Regions from separate parts of the Homo sapiens genome. Here region 2 is linked to region 1. Evidence: promoter capture Hi-C in human tissues and cell types (Jung and others, 2019). All regions are on one chromosome and are shown on one strand. Each heading gives the region's core, a stretch centred on a gene start or on the middle of the fragment in contact. The rest is flanking DNA. Distances are from core to core; before and after follow the strand shown.

The links. The method cuts DNA at HindIII sites, captures the fragments that hold promoters and counts their contacts. A contact is called where the count stands out against the background at its distance.
Region 2: a fragment that was not itself captured here is called in contact with the fragment with the promoter of LGI2 in region 1 in 2 of the 25 tissues and cell types used here (H1 embryonic stem cells and mesenchymal stem cells).

Annotation. Positions count from the first base shown.
Region 1 is chr4:25,029,569-25,032,362 of GRCh38, forward strand. LGI2 (leucine rich repeat LGI family member 2) reads right to left here and starts at 1,378. Exons shown (of 8, transcript NM_018176.4): 1 at 929-1,378. The coding sequence starts at 1,125. It overlaps LOC124900684 (a long non-coding RNA gene), which reads left to right and starts at 540. Exons shown (of 2, transcript XR_007058083.1): 1 at 540-665. The HindIII fragment of the contact is 9,452 bases long and covers 1-2,794 here.
Region 2 is chr4:24,794,133-24,796,926 of GRCh38, forward strand. SOD3 (superoxide dismutase 3) reads left to right here and starts at 1,441. Exons shown (of 2, transcript NM_003102.4): 1 at 1,441-1,519. The HindIII fragment of the contact is 6,648 bases long and covers 1-2,794 here.

The sequences.
Region 1 (2,794 bases), core at 128-2,627:
CTAGCAGTAAAGATACAGCCCAACAGCCCCTTCCACCGCCCTTGTGAGAGCTGGTCATTTGGCTTGAGTGGCCAGGTGAGGGCAGGATGAAAGCACCTCTCGGCAGGTGGATACCTAATGTGAAGCCCTTTCCTGTCAGTTCCTCCTGCTGAAAAAGCAGCCAACACAACTGTGTGATGGAGAAAGGGGGCAAGAAGCCCTCCTGACCTCAGGGCAAGAAGGCTGACTTCAAAGCACTTGGCCACTGGGCTAGGCGCCCAACATGCCCCAAACCTCTGCCCAGCCTTCTGTTACCCCTCTTCTAGGCCACGGGGGGCGGCCCCTCCCCTCCCAGAGCCTGCATGCCTTGACCTCGACTTTTTGCAACCTGCAATGTGGAGAAGTCGGGAGGAGGCCACGGGGTGAACATTCGCCCCAGACCTGATGTGGGGCAGTGAGGCCTCACCCTGCCCAGTTTGCACTCAGTCAGGTCGTGTTCAGCTGCTCCTATGCACGCCCCTACACACACAACTCCAACCCGCAAACACACACACACACACGCACACGCCCTCTCAAACTTTAATGCACCCTTGAGTCTCCCGGGGACGTCAAACGCACACTCCAGGACTCCACTCCAAAGACTGCTTCAGAGCAGCTGGATTCTGCATTGGCACAAGCTTCCCCAGGTGAGTCTGATGCAGGTGGCCCGTGGGCCACACTCTGAGAAACGCTGCCACAGGAACCTGTCTGGGTTCCCAGATTCTGGGGCTCAGGTCCTCACCGTCCTCCCCGGGGGCCAACACTCCACCCACGTCCCCCACACAAAGGCAAAGAAGGGGCCTGGGGAGTGGGTCAGGGTCGCGCTGGCCCGGCGCCAGAGGCAACTCCCTCGCGGCGGCGGACGCAGGGTGGGGCGGGACGGGATGGGGGCTGGAGGGGTCCCACTCACAGGGAGCTGATGTCGCCCGGCACGATCCTGGGCACCCAGGAAGAGCCCACGCAGATGATAGACTCCTTGGTACAGCTGCAAGTGGCGGGGCAGCGCGCCAGCCGCCTCACCTGCGCGCTCCGCGGTATCAGGCACGCGGCGCCCAGCAGCAGCAGCAGCAGCCCGAGCGCTCCGCAGCCGCCTCTCCGCAGCGCCATGCCCGGTCCCCGCTCCCCGCCCGGGCCCCGACCCCCACCGCCGCGCCGCGCGCTCGGACCCGGCGCCGCTGCAGACGCGGGCGCCGCTCGCTGCTCTGCCGCCGCCGCTGCTGGCGAGGACTAGGGAGCCGCGGGTGTGGGAGGCCGAGCCGCAGCCGAGCAGCATGCTGGCCGCCACCCCCACTCGGCGCCCCCCCACCCGAGCCCGGGCTGCTGGGCGGCCGCCGCCGCTGCGCCCGCCGCACTCGCGCCTGCCTGACATCAGCACTCGCGCCCGCAGCCCGGCTCTGGCCAATGAATAATGCATGGCGGGGCCCGCCCCGCGGGGGAGGGGGCCAGCGCCGGCCCCGTGGCGCCCCACCCGGCCCCCACCTCGCCACCCCCTCTCGCCCCGGGCCGGGCGCGGGGACAGAGGGAAAAGTTGGGTGACCTTGGGGGAGGGGCCAAGCCTGGCGGAGACCCCCGTCGGGGCCTGACTGAGCGGTGGAGGATCCGATGCCTGCAATACCTCCAGGGGTATAATCTGGGGAGGGCACTGGGTTCCTTTCAGGCAAATCAATAAAGTCGGAGCGGGGAGTGTGGAGAACCGGCTTGATTACTGGGGAGGGAGGCAGCCCTGGGTGCTTTGAAGAGGAGAGACTTTGGAGCAGCCTTTATTAATTTTGAAGTGCATGCTGCCGGTAGGGTCAGCGAGGATGGCTTTGCTTGTCTTCTGCGGTGGGGCAGTGAGGTCTGGCTCTCGCTCCCACAGCACCAGGGGTTACTGAAGCCAGCCAGTCCTCCCATGGGAGGAACGTGGGGAAGCAAAGCCGCTGCAGCCTGCACGCCCGGCGCTCTGGGCCCTGCCTGCTGCCTGCTAAAGAGCTGGAAAGCCCGGGAAAGTTTCCCCTCGCTCAGCTGCCCACGGGTCACCCCACCCGCCCCAGTCAGAGGAGGGTTTGTAGAGATTGAGGGTGTGATACATTCTAGCCACTGTACTTTTAATCTTCTAACCTTTTGAGGCAGGTCCTACTTATATCCTTAATTTATTGATGAGGCTGCTGACGCCCAGAAAGCATCCTGACTGGCTGATGGTCCAGCAGCTCCTGGCTGGGCAGGATGGGGCTCGGAGCCTTGAAGGGCTACCTTAACTGGGCCCTCCTGAGCCCCTCTTCAACTCCTTAAGTTTGAAGCAATGAGCGGAAATCTTAACACAGGTAATGTGCGGCTGAGGAAATCAAAGAAAATGACCAAAGCGGAAACAAAGTAATGGCTAATAACCTGAACTGCTGGGAGAAGGGAATCACAGCACGACTGTCGAGCTGCAAACCAAGGAAAAGCATGCCAGATGCTAAAACCTACTCAGAAAAGTCAGTATCGAATGCAAAAGTAGGAATCATACTATTGCTTCTTCAGCAATTATTGTTGGTGATCCATTGACAAGATCCATGAGGACGGTATCAGGCTGGCTGCTGTGGGAGGGAACAAAGGAACAGCTCCTGTCCTCAGGGAGCTAAAAGTCTAGCTGGACAGACAACCCTAAAAGAGCAACTCCACTGGCTACAAGGGGGTCACAGACTGACCAAAAGAGGTTCAGGAATTGAAAGAGAGCTTTGCGTAGGCAACTTCATGGAGGGAGTTAGACATTCCCTGCTGGTGACTATGTAAAAAGCACCTGGCATCAGTACAA
Region 2 (2,794 bases), core at 108-2,607, 240 kb before region 1:
TAGACTGTTGCAGGGTGGGGGTGGGGTGGTGGGTGGCATGGGGAACTCTGAAAACTCATTAGTTGAGGATAACTACGCCTACCAACAGAATGCAGAGGTGCAAGACTGAGCTACTGGTGCCTGAGTTCTCAGCGGGCCAGAAGGAAGGACGGTAGGGTGGAAGGGCTGGAGTCTCAGTTCTGGGAAGTCTCCCTCTTATCTCGCAGAATGCCTGTCCCTGGATAAAGATCATTAGTTTGAGTTTTTCCAAGATGATTCTAGGAAGCTCCTGCTGGTAACTAAGTCACCCATCCTGGGGTGGGATCCAGAGATTTAGATTTTTTATAAGCTTTCCTGCCACCGAAACGGGTGTTTGGGACCTCACGAGGCCCTGTTCATTCTTCGTCGCTGCGCTCCCCACTCTGTACTGGATGCATTTACTGACGTTGTTGTCTCCGTCCCCAGAGTATGAACCCCCAAGGTGACTCATGCAGCTGTGGGTGCCCGGCATACAGCATGGTGACTGGAATGGATGAGCACCCAATAAACATTTGTTGCAGGAATGCAGGAGGACGGGCAGGCCAGCAAGCAGGCTGCCTGGTTTTTCCCACATGGGCTTTTCTGGGAAAGAAGAGCTTCTATTTTTGGAAAGGGCTGCTATGATTGAGAAAAGTTCATGGCAGCAAAAAAAGGACAGACGTCGGGAGGGAAACACTCCTAGTTCTCCCAGACAACACATTTTTTAAAAAGACTCCTTCATCTCTTTAATAATAACGGTAACGACAATGACAATGATGATTACTTATGAGTGCGGCTAGTGCCAGCCACTGTGTTGTCACTGGGCGAGTAATGATCTCATTGGATCTTCACGGTGGGCGTGCGGGGTGGACAGCCTCACACCCCCATTTTACAGATGATGAAAAGGAGGTGCAGGGAGTGGTGCAGCTGCTTCAGGCGTACACAGATAGGAAGTGACAAGGCTGGGACTCTGCAGCCTGAGTGTGTCATCACGACCCACCCGCTGCTCTGCTCTCATAGGTATGACAGCACAGCTCTGGAGCAAATGCCACGCACATTTGCAAGGTGCCCATTTCCATGCAGCAAAAATAAGTCAATAAGTTATTGACTTACAGAAAAGCAAAGGGCCTCTCAATAAAGAGGTCATTGTACACCTCTCCAAACAGGCGATTTTCTTTCTCATTTTTATTCCCCTGCTGTGTGCTGAAGGTCACTGGCTACAAGCCGGTGAAGTCGCGGAATGGAATCCTTGGCCCGAAAACCCAAAAATGGGAGGGGCAGAGGAGGTGGGGACAGAGCGGGAGGAGGTGGAGGCGAAGCAATTCTACAACCCGGGGAGGTCTGGCCTGCTTTTCCTCCCTGAACTGGCCCAATGACTGGCTCCCTCACGCTGACCACTCCTCTGGGCTGGCCTCCTGCACTCGCGCTAACAGCCCAGGCTCCAGGGACAGCCTGCGTTCCTGGGCTGGCTGGGTGCAGCTCTCTTTTCAGGAGAGAAAGCTCTCTTGGAGGAGCTGGAAAGGTGGGTGCTAAGTTGAGGTTCATTTTGTTCTTCTCGGAGTGTGCTTATTGAGTCTGAAGCTGGGTTGGGGCAACGGGCCTCTTCTTGGGAACAAATTGGATCATCTTCTTGGGAAGGAAATGTACTTTCCCTGGCTGCTCTGAGGGGTTAGTGGGGAGGTGGAGTGAGCGGGGAGGAAGGCAAGGAGGGGAGGAAGAAACCGTTCCTCCTGTGGATCTGCAAAGACCAGTCCAAGAGGATTTTAGTGTTAGGAAAAGGAATCTGGAGTGACGAGAAAGGGGGCCTTTCTAGATGTTGCATGGCTTTGGTGTCGGGAGCCACTTATGGGACAGCAGGTACTCTAAAAAGCCACCTCCTTAGGAAAGCAGAGAGGCCCTGGCCAGCTCAGGCTCCCAGCAAGAGCTCCTTCTAGGAGACAGCTGAGGGATGAAACACACCCAAGGCTCAAGAGGGGCAGGTTCTTCCCAGATACAGACCCAGGAAGGAGATAAAGGCTTGGTGCCTCTATTTGGTTCAGGATAAGGGCCCCTGTCCTCTTTCTCTGATAACACTGTCCTCTTTCTCTGATAACACCGTCCTCCCTTCCAGATCCACGTACAAAGGAGGCCCTTAAAAAGGCACTTGGTCATTCACAGCTCAAACTGAGCAAGAGGCTGTGGGAGAAGAATCAAGTTGGTCCCGAGGGGAAGAGGTGTCAAAGGCTTAAGAAACAAGAAGTCAGAGTTTACCTGGGTTTGAGGGAGAATTTTCTTTCCCCCTTTTCCTCCTCCTCCTCCTTCTTCTCTTTTTTTTTTTTTTTTTTTTTTTTTTGAGACATGGTCTCATTCTGTCACCCAGCACCCAGGCTGGAATGTAGTGGCACGATCACTATCACGGCTCACTACAGCCTCTACCTCCCGGGCTCAAGCGATCCTCCTACCTCAACCTCCTGAGTAACTGGGACTACAGGCACATGCCACCACACCCAGCTATTTTTTTTTTTTTTTTTTGCTAGAGATGGGGGTCTCTACCAGGTTGGTCTCATACTCTTGTACTCAAATGATTCTCCTGTCTCATCCTCCCAAAGGGGTGGGATTACAGGCATAAGCCACCATGCCTGGCTCTTCTTTTGGTTTCAGAGAAAAACATCTCCTTAAAATGTTTATTTCCCAAGGATTCTTGAAAAAGAAAGCTCACTGACACACCCAAAACAATCTGGTTTTGCTCTGTGCTTTTAGGGAGAACTTTCTAAGCAGCAGAGCCCTTCTGAGTGGCAGGGCTGTCTTAGGAGGAAGG